2 separate regions of the Homo sapiens genome follow, and region 1 is linked to region 2. The links are contacts of gene promoters, found by promoter capture Hi-C in human tissues and cell types (Jung and others, 2019). All regions are on one chromosome and are shown on one strand. Each heading gives the region's core, a stretch centred on a gene start or on the middle of the fragment in contact. The rest is flanking DNA. Distances are from core to core; before and after follow the strand shown.

Evidence for each region. Contacts are between HindIII fragments. The study calls those that stand out against the background at their distance.
Region 1: a contact is called between a fragment that was not itself captured here and the fragment with the promoter of FAM114A1 in region 2, in 1 of the 25 tissues and cell types used here (H1 embryonic stem cells).

The regions. Positions count from the first base shown.
Region 1 is chr4:39,161,630-39,166,462 of GRCh38, reverse strand. No RefSeq gene overlaps it. Among named protein-coding and RNA genes, the nearest start is that of WDR19, 18 kb to the left of the region's middle. The HindIII fragment of the contact is 5,116 bases long and covers 611-4,833 here.
Region 2 is chr4:38,866,301-38,871,332 of GRCh38, reverse strand. It overlaps FAM114A1 (family with sequence similarity 114 member A1), which reads right to left and starts at 3,527. Exons shown (of 15, transcript NM_138389.4): 1 at 3,499-3,527; 2 at 2,787-2,935. MIR574 (microRNA 574) reads right to left here and starts at 3,301; the gene lies at 3,206-3,301. It also overlaps a transcript of TLR6 not described here. RefSeq lists an enhancer at 2,393-2,976 and silencers at 3,184-3,233, 3,284-3,763. The HindIII fragment of the contact is 6,667 bases long and covers 3,133-5,032 here.

The sequences.
Region 1 (4,833 bases), core at 1,919-4,418, 300 kb before region 2:
GGGTGAATAATGTTTTTCCCCAGAGGGAAATAAAAAGAAGTAAAATGTGTTTCACTTGGTTTGATTTGGGGGTTAGGGGGTTGGTTTTTGTCTTTATTTTTTCCTCTTCTTAAATGTTTGATGGAAGGCTTGTAATAGAACTGAATAGCATGAGGAAGTGAGACTGAATTCACTGAAGCTCGGATAGAGTATAGGAGATTTTTGAATGAGAAAAGACCCTTAGCCAGTGGAAGCTGGGTGGTTAAGTTTCATGTGGTAGCTTCCTTCAAGGAGCACACAGGAAAATCTTTTCACGGAGAGACACCTAAGGAGCTGAGGACAGTTTAGCCTGACTGGAAGAATACAGGCAGTGCTACAATATGAAAAATGCTGAATACTTTTAGAACTAGTCGTAACTAATGGGAGCTCTACACTGAATGACATTTCCCATTCTTGTGAAGAAGAGGATGCTACTTTTTGCATTTAGGATTTTCTACAGTGCTTTGAGCAGACTAGAAGATGTGAGGATGGAAGTCTTCCAGTCTTCCACATGTTAAAACAGAAAGGAAAGTGGGGGACCTTTGTTGTTTTGTGTTTTCTACAGTGCCTTGAGTAGTGCCTTGCACAGAATAAACACTCAGTTTATATTTTAATATGAATTGATGGCATTTATTAGCTAGGAATTGGCCATCAAGATACTTATTGATAAAAGAAACTCCTTGTATTAGCTAGCTAAAAAATGAAAGAATGGATATAATTTTGCTCTTTTCATATAAGAATTACCTATTCTTTAACCTGTATAATTTTTTCCAGTTGCTTAGTGCTTTTGCAGCACTCATTTTTAGTGTAATGTGTTTCGTGTTTCTTAGGAATGTGGTGGACCACCTTGGTCAGCAGAAGGGAAAATAGGGGTAGCAGTAAGATCCACTAAAAAGAGTGTAATAATTTTTAGTGTGGCTGTTTCCTTCCTTTTTTTCACCATTTCTTCCCTTCCCTTCTTCCTCCTCATAAACCCTTTCCCCCTCCCCACAAGAAGACAATACATGTTAGCAACTTAATATGAATTCTGCCATACTTTTCCTCTATGGTCATAAACCATAAATGTGGCACACACATGTATATGTGTTTGTGTGTGTGTATCCATATATGTAATGGTGTTTTTGTGGCACTGTTGAACAAATGGTAATGTATACACATTTTTTTTTTTCTGTATCTTACCTTTCTCATTCAATAATATCTTCTGGATATTCCTCCAAATCCCATTTCATCTTTCCCCTGTGGCATCCACTTTATGCTCAGGGTTTTGCTACTAGAACATTGAGGTCCTTATAGATATTTTTAACATAATCATACTTTTATTTCTTTGGAATAAATTCCCATGAGTAGAATTGTTGGGCTGAGGAGTATATGTATTTTTAATTTTAATAGATTTATCAGAGTGATTTTCAAAAAGATTATAATGCTTAATGCTCCCACTAGCAACTTATGAAAGTACTTTTCCTTCACTTTCTCACCAGAAACGATCAACAATTTTCATAGGTTCTCTTAATTTTTGCTAGTCTGATAGGAATAAAGTTTCATTCTTACTTTAACTTGCATTTCCCTGAGAGCTAATGAATTTGAACACTTTTCATATGTTTGTTGGCTATTTCAATTTGTTCTTCTGCTATCTAACTTTATGGAGTTGTTTTTCTTTTTTTATTGTCAATTTGTAAGAGCTCTTTTTCATATTCTTGTGTAGTTAAACATGTCTATTTTAAAAATAGCTACTTGGTTTCTAGTCTTGGCTTTGAAGTTTTTATCTGTTTATAGGAGACTTTATTGAATGATTTTAATTTTTTTACACTTAAGTCTTTAATATAGAATTAGTTTTTACATATGGTATAAGATGCAGATCTTCTTTTATACTAAACTCAGCCCAAACTCCTCTCCAGACCTTCACCCGGGGTAGAGAGCTTGCTACCTCCTAATTGTGTTAAAATACCACATATATTTTTATTATACTCAGGAGGGGGTCCTATGGCCAGGACACCTTATATTTATTTAGTGTATCAATCCGTTTTCATGCTGCTGATATAGACATACCCGAGACTGGGAAGAAGAAGAGGTTTAATGGACTTACAGTCCCACAGGGCTGGGGAGGCCCCACAATCATGGCAGAAGGCAAGGAGGAGCAAGTCGCATCTTCAGTGGATGGCGGCAGGCAGAGAGAGAGCTTGTGCAGGGGAACCCCTCTTTATAAAACCATCAGATCGCGTGAGACTTATTCACTATCATGAAAACAGCACCAGAAAGACCCGCCCCCATGATTCAATTACCTTTCACTGGCACTGGGTCCCTCCCACGACACGTAGGAATTGTGGGAGTAACAATTCAAGATGAGATTTGGGTGAGGACACAGCCAAACCATATCAATTAATTCAGTCTCAGAAGAAATCTTTCCAGAAAGTCAAACTGATGCTCTACTTTTGGCCTAGAATTCTGGTAGAGGCAAGAATGTAAACATTCCACATTAGTCTCCTCTTTATTCTGTCTTTTTTTTTTTTTTTTTGGTTAGATTTTGTTTTTTTGTTTTCTATAAGGTCTTAGTAACTTACATAATTCCCCTACTTTCACTGACTTTATTCTATTTTTATTAACTAACCTTACATTTCTCCCTCTTCTTAATCATTTTCCTTATGATTAATATTGCCCACTCAACAATCCTTAGTCCTACCAAAGGACTTTTTTTGGAAGTCTTTTAGGAATGCTAGAACTTACTGATATACTATACCCATTGTTATCTTTTTTATTATATTATAAAATTCTACTATCTTAGTTTTTCATTTTTACTATTCACTTTTACCTCAAGTTTGATAAATATTACATAATAAATAAAAATTACATAATAATAAATTGACCATAATAATATGGTCAATTTAACATATTTTCAAGAAATTGGCTGAGACATTTTTCAAGCTTGTGAACATAATTTTTTCAACATTGCAAAAACCTAGTAACTAAACGAAGCTGGTAGATAATGACCATTGCACATTTGATCTTTAAACATGATATTAAACATCACATTTGGGTTCTTAAAAAATTTATTTTTGTGCATTGCCTTACAATACATATTTATATTTTAAGTGTTTCTATTGTAAAATGATAAGACTTGCTTAAGGACCACATGGTGTAATAGCAAATTGAACTTGGTCATGAACCTCTACTTTAAACCCAGTTCATGGAACTTACTGATTCTTTGACCTTGGGAAAATTATCTCCTCTGAACCTGTGCTCCCATGTATAAAATAGGAATAAAAATGTTTATGGAATTTAGTTTTAGAGACAATTTAATCAGTTAAAAAGAAAGAGAAAAGAAAACAAAATCCAATTATCAATGTATATTACTTTTTTTGCATATTTCCTTCTGGTTTTTGCCCCTATGTATATCTATTTTACTATGTATTTATGAATATGGTATATGTGTATATTTAACACGTTTATTTAGGTCAAATAAAAAATTTAACACATTTATTATGCTGTTCAGTATCGAGCAATAAAAAAGCATATAATCTTAAATAGATTTTTAGTTTTCTCATAACAAATAAGTCAACTTATTTGCATTTCAAATTGCAGTTCCTGGCTGATGCTGATTTTGCTGGTCCAGGGAGCACACTTTGAGGTCACTGATCCCTAGATAATTGTTTCCAAAATCCCATTCACTTTTTGTCATATGAGTTATATGAAAAACAGCATGTATTTTTTAATATTGATTGTTTATGAAGCAACAAATCTTTTCCTATTATATGCCTTCTGAAAGTCACTTTTCAGTTTATTATTTTTAAGCTGCAAGATGCATTTGATATTTTATATAATTTTATTGTCTTATATCATTTTATAATTTTAAAATTAGGGACCCTGATTACTGCCTCATTTTCTGATTTTTATTATGTATTCTGTTTTTTCTCGTTAGGCTGACAGAATAGATAAGAAGATTTCAGTAGGTAGATATAAGGGAAGGGATATTTAGAGGTAATGAGGTAGAGTGGAAAACACAGACAAACTGATCTGAACTCAGTAATAATCCTTTAATAACTTGGAAATAACTTTCTCAGCTTCACTTTTCTTGTCTATAATACAGCTAATAATATCCACTTTAGAGGGTTGTTAAAAAGATGAGATAACATATATGATGGTTGCTAGCCATGCGTGGTCTATAGTAGGCACTCAATAAGTAATAGGTGAGGTAATGTTGTTACTGTTATTAAGCAACGAGAAGTTCAAGGTTGAAATTGTTTTTTATTTCAACATTATAATTCATGTATATCGCAATAAATCTTGATAAAAATAAAGGTATAATACCCATCAAACTAATAAAAAACATTTTCTAGGTTGAAAAATGACAGATGCAATTTCTTCAAAAAAGAAAATGTATGGAGGAGAATATCCAGACAGTGATGACAGGAAGCAATAGAGATTACACAAGATCGGAGTAAAATGTTCATAATTGTTAAAGCTGGGGGATAATCACATGGGAATTTATTATACTATTGTGTCTATTCTTATGTATGCCTGAACGTTTTCATAATAAAAAGTTTCAGGCTGGGCGCAGTGGCTCACGCCTGTAATTCCAGCCCTTTGAGAGTCCAAGGCAGGAGGATTGCTTGAGCCCAGGAATTTAAAACCAGCCTGGGCAGCATAGTGAGACCCTGCCTCTACAAAAAAATTTAAAAATTAGCTGGGTGGGCTGGGTGTGGCGGCTCATGCCTGTAGTCCCAGCACATTGGAAGACCGAAGCTGGTGGATCACTTGAGCTCACAAGTTCAAGACCAGCCTAGGCAACATGACGAAACCCCATTTCTACAAAAAATACCA
Region 2 (5,032 bases), core at 2,278-4,777:
ATCACTTGAGGCCAGGAGTTCCAGACCAGCCTGCCCAGCAGAGTGAAATCCTGTCTCTACTAAAAATACAAAAAAATTAGCTGGGCATGGTGGCATGTGCCTGTAATCCCAGCTACTCTGGAGGCTGAGGCATGAGAATTGCTTGAACCTGGAAGGCAGAGGCTACAGTGAGCCAGGATCATGCCACTGCACTCCAGCCTGGGTGACAGTGTGAGACCCTGTCGCAAAAAAAAAAAAAAAAAAAAAGAAAGAAAAAAAAGAAAGCCATGCAAGATCAGCTCTAATTCAATTTCTAATTGTGTGTATCTCTAATCCATATTTATCTCTACTTGTTACAGGTCTAATTTTCCCCAAATCAAAACGAAAAAAAATTATTTTTTGTTTGGTTGTTCTGGTAGAACTTTATCGACTGTGGATGCTATCATGATGGGGGAAATGTAATCATTTTTCAGACTATACCCTTTTGTATGAAACCACTAGAAACTGTGTGTTTGAAATACAGAACTGTTTCTGAGCAGGGGCTGCTGGAGTCCACCAGGATTACAGTCATGACAAGCACTGTGTTTCCTGGGACGGTTTCCATCTCCGTCTGGGTGTTCCATAAGCCAGACTTAGAAACCTTTCCTGATTTATGGTTAGGAACACTGATCACTGTAGCCATGTCTCGTGGACTGGAGGCTAGGGAGACTCAACCCACAGAAACAAGGAGGCTGCTTCAGGAAACTCTAAGGAGAGGAAGGGTGGCATATAAAGAAGCCTTTGTGGGCTGGGAATAAGTTAGTTTTTCGTGAGTAAATTCATTCATCACCTAAAATGCTCCCAGAACTATGCAAGGTATTTAAGCAGCAACATCACAGCTCCAAAAATAAGTATAAAACAGAAGACATGGTCACTATCCTTCAGAAATCAATCATCTGTTTGAGGAGCTAACACAAAACAGTTAAAAAGTGATGCAAAACAGCACAGCAAATCAAGGACAGATGTGCCTGAACTAGACTGACCCTGTGCAAGGGAGAATCTTGAAAGTGTCTTTGATGTGGTGATTCAGGCCTGGTGGGATGAGAGCATGTGCAAATGTCCAAGCATCAGCGATGGACTGTAGTGATTCAGGACAGGTGTCTGAGAGGCCAGGACATGAGGCTGCATGGAGGAATGATGAGAGGTGGGAGCGATGGTATTCTGAGGTGGAAAGAGTTGTGTCCTGCAGGCGTCAAGGGATGTGGCCTCTGGTCCCAGTATCCCTTTGTGGGCACACAACTTGATCCTCACTGTGCTTACACCTGCTCCTCTGTAAAGCTAGGATGGACAAACTGATCTGGATGCTTTTTTTTCCAAACTCCACCTGCAGGACTGGGGCAAGTCTGTGATGATAGAGAAAAATGAGGACAAGATTGCAAGTTTTTCATAAATCTAAATTTATTAAATGTAAAGGACTGCCTTCATCTTTCAAGTTTAGCCTTTGTGCTTTTTCTTGGTATTAAAATGTCTTTCATTTTATGAAATAGTGACAGTGGATGGATTTTTTTAAAAAAAATGGCCTGACTTGGCAGCATAAAAATTTGGTTAGCATGATATCCTGTGTGAGGTCATCTCCCCCAGTTAAAAAAAAAAAACAAAAACAGTGCCAGTCAGCGAAGGACCAGGAATAAAAACTCTGGATGAGAGGCTCTTAATCAGGTTGTAGCAGTTTGTATGAGTTTGTATAAAGCTTGACAAGTCTACGTACCCAGGCTCCAGCCTATTCTCTGTGAGGCTGCCAGGCATTTTTGGACCTATTTGCTCTCCTGTTCAAAAACCATTAGGTGTAAATATCTTCACACTTCCCATCATAATCCAGCTCCAATCTCTCTCCACCTCTTGCAACTCTCAGTATCCTCCACTCCTGCCTCACCAGTCTTTTCTCCATTCCCCATAACTCTTCACATCTCCCTGCCTTTGCTTACGCTGGTTCCTCTGCCCCGGTGCTGCCCTTCCTCCAGCTGCCTGGCAAACTCCTATTCCTCTAGACACCCAGTGTCTAATGTTACCTTTCATTCTGAATTTTTCCTTAATCTGCCCCACTGCTTCCAATGAAATAACTGCTACCTCTTCTATGTTTTTGGCACTTTGCACAGATTTCTATTCCATGTATTTATGGAGTATTTACTTCTGCCATTCTGTCCTCCAAGACTGTGACCAACAGCACCTAGGTTGGTTTCTGTCCCTCAGATATTTACTGAATTGAAATACATTGTGTTTGATATTAATAAAAGAGAAACCATGTTTGATGTAAGCCTGGTCAAATAAACAAAGACAAGTTTACTTTTATGGTCTGAATCGCTCAGATTCAAGAAAGCCCCCTCCAACCCTCAAATTCCTTCTGCACTGTCTCACTTGTGCCTCAAATCCATCCCTAACGTCTCATTCCTTCACTTAAAGGTTACAATGTAAGAAGTTTATCAGATTCTTTCCCAAGCTCAGGCTTGATGGAAGAAAGGAGGGCGGGGACGCAGGCCTATGGGTGGGGTAGGGAAGGAGCCACTAGGCTGCAGAGAGGGCAAAAAGAGGCTCTGAGGATAGAGCCTGTCTCATTCTCAGTTGTCACAGGTTGGCTGAGGTCACAGGGAGTTCAGAGCACACTGATTTAAGAAGCCACCTGCCTGTGTCCTTCAAGATGTTTAGGATGGGAAATGATGGGATCAGTAGGGCATAGGTAATGCTCTCACAGCCCATAGAGAGATGTCTTCCTACTTAAGAAAAGGCAGTGACGTTCAGGCGCCTGGTCTGAGGTGCCTGGAAATACTCACCGGATGGCAGAGGCGAGGGCTAGCCGACTGGGTGGAGGGGGCCTGGGGATCTGCGGTAGGGAGTGGGACCCATCCCGGGGGCTGCGAGTGGAGGCGGTGCCTGCTTAGAGTGTTGGCTGGACTGGAAGAGCAGGCAGGGCGTGGGTCGGCTGTTGGGGGAGGAGTAAGGCGAGGGGAGCGGGGAGGTCAAGGCCTGAGCTCCCTGTGCCAAGGCCGAGGGCAGGCGCACCCTGGGACGAGGCCTCTGTCTTACAGGGACCTGCTCCCTTCGTGCCCGGGCTGGGGGACCCTGCAGCCCACCTCTGACTTGGCCCCGAGCCATTGGGGGCACTTTTCCAGACTTGCTTGGTGCCAGGACTGGATACTTTGGGAGATCCAGGCAGGCTCCGCGGAGGTTCACGCAGGCCGAGGGGGCAGACCCTGAGTGTGGGCGTGTGGGTGTGTGCATGAGCGTGGACCCGGAGCGACACACACTCACACACACACACTCACACGCCCGCACCCACGCAGGTCCCTCGGCCGCGCCGCCCCAGACCCTCACCCCAGAGCCGGGTCCTCCCTGACCACTGCTTCTCACTAACGCAGAGGGCAGGATTCGTGGGTCCCGGACGAGGCGCCAAGGTATGGTGTTCCCACCACCCCCGGGCAGCCGCCCCCGCGCTCGCCCGCCCCCCGGGGAAGGGGATGGGGACCGAGTGCCCGGGGCTCTTACCGCTCAGGCGGCCGAGTACGCGCGGGAGTGCCCAGCGGGTCCCGCCCCGCCACGTCTGCAGGGCCGGCGGGGACGCGGCCGGAGGGCGGGCGGCTGGAGAGGGGGCCCCGCCCCGCCTGCGCCCCGCCCCACGAGGAGCGCCGCGGGGACGCCCGGCCACCCCCACGCTGCGAGGGCCGGGCCCGCGCTGGGCGAGTCTCCTGGAAACTTGGCTTGTCCCACCCCTGTGCCAGCGCGGAAAGCCAGAGCGCGCCGCCTCTCCAGCCCAGGGCGGGTGGGTCTCGGGGTTCGCCAGATCCCTTTCCTTTCCTTAAAAGGGCTTGGAAAACCCCCCGCCGTGTCACTGGGAAGAGGTCGCTCAAATTCAGCTAAAGTTTGATCTCCTGATTCTGCGTTAAGCAGCACTCCCTTGCCCTGTCGGTGGGAGTGTGATAGATTTAAAACAAACAAACCCCAAACAAACAACGAAAACCCACTTTCCAGAAGGCCAGTTTGGAGCTGTGGGTTAAAACTCCGATGTATTAGCTTTGGCCTAGGAATTCCACATTTGTGAATTTGTCCTAAGTAGGCAGTCAAATGGGCAAATATGTATGTACAAGGATGTTTGTTGTAGTTGTTTCTGCGGGGGGAAGCCGGAGACAATCTCAATGTCCCCCAGTAAGATTGGTGAAGTAAGCTACAGTAACTTCAGACATCGAATATGTTGTAGCCCTTAAAAATGAGGATTCGTTGACATGGAGGGAAGGCCACATATGAAGGCCTTCCTCAAATATGGCTTAATATGAACTCAGATGCGGAGGAAGCGCAGTGTTTATAGTATTAACTAGTTTTGTAAACAATTTTGTATTTTCTATAAAAGTCGGAGGAAATACAATTTAAAAATAGTGATTCTTTCTGAGCGATGTGTTTAAGGCAGATTTTCTCCTCTCTCACTCCATCCCTTCTTCTTTTTGAAGAATTATAAATTCAAAGTTAAAGAAAAAATAGCCCTAGTCTCTCCCTTTCAATATCACTACCATTTTTTATAGTGTGTGGATCCTACCATAGTTTTTCTAAGCTTATATAAATACATGTATGCATAAACAGCTTTTTGTTTGCTTTTTTATAAAAATGGCGAGATGTTGACGTATTTTGTAAATTTCCCCCTATTTATTATATATTATAATCATCTTTCTTGGTCAATACATATCAACCAAAACCACTCTTCTAAGACTTGTCTTATATATTGCAATATGTTTGTAATTATATTTCATTCAATCATTCTCCTATTGACAATTAGTTTGCTCCTTATATTCCAGTTTCTTCCATATATATATTAATTAATTTATTAATTCATTTTTTTGAGATGGAGTCTTGCTCTGTCGTCCAGGCTGGAAAGCAGTGGCGTGATCTCAGCTCACTGCAGCCTCTGCTTACTGGGTTCAAGCAATTCTCCTGCCTCAGCCTCTTGAGTAGCTGGGATTACAGGTGCGTGCCACCACACCCGGCTAATTTTTGTATTTTTTAGTAGAGACGGGGTTTCACCATGTTGGCC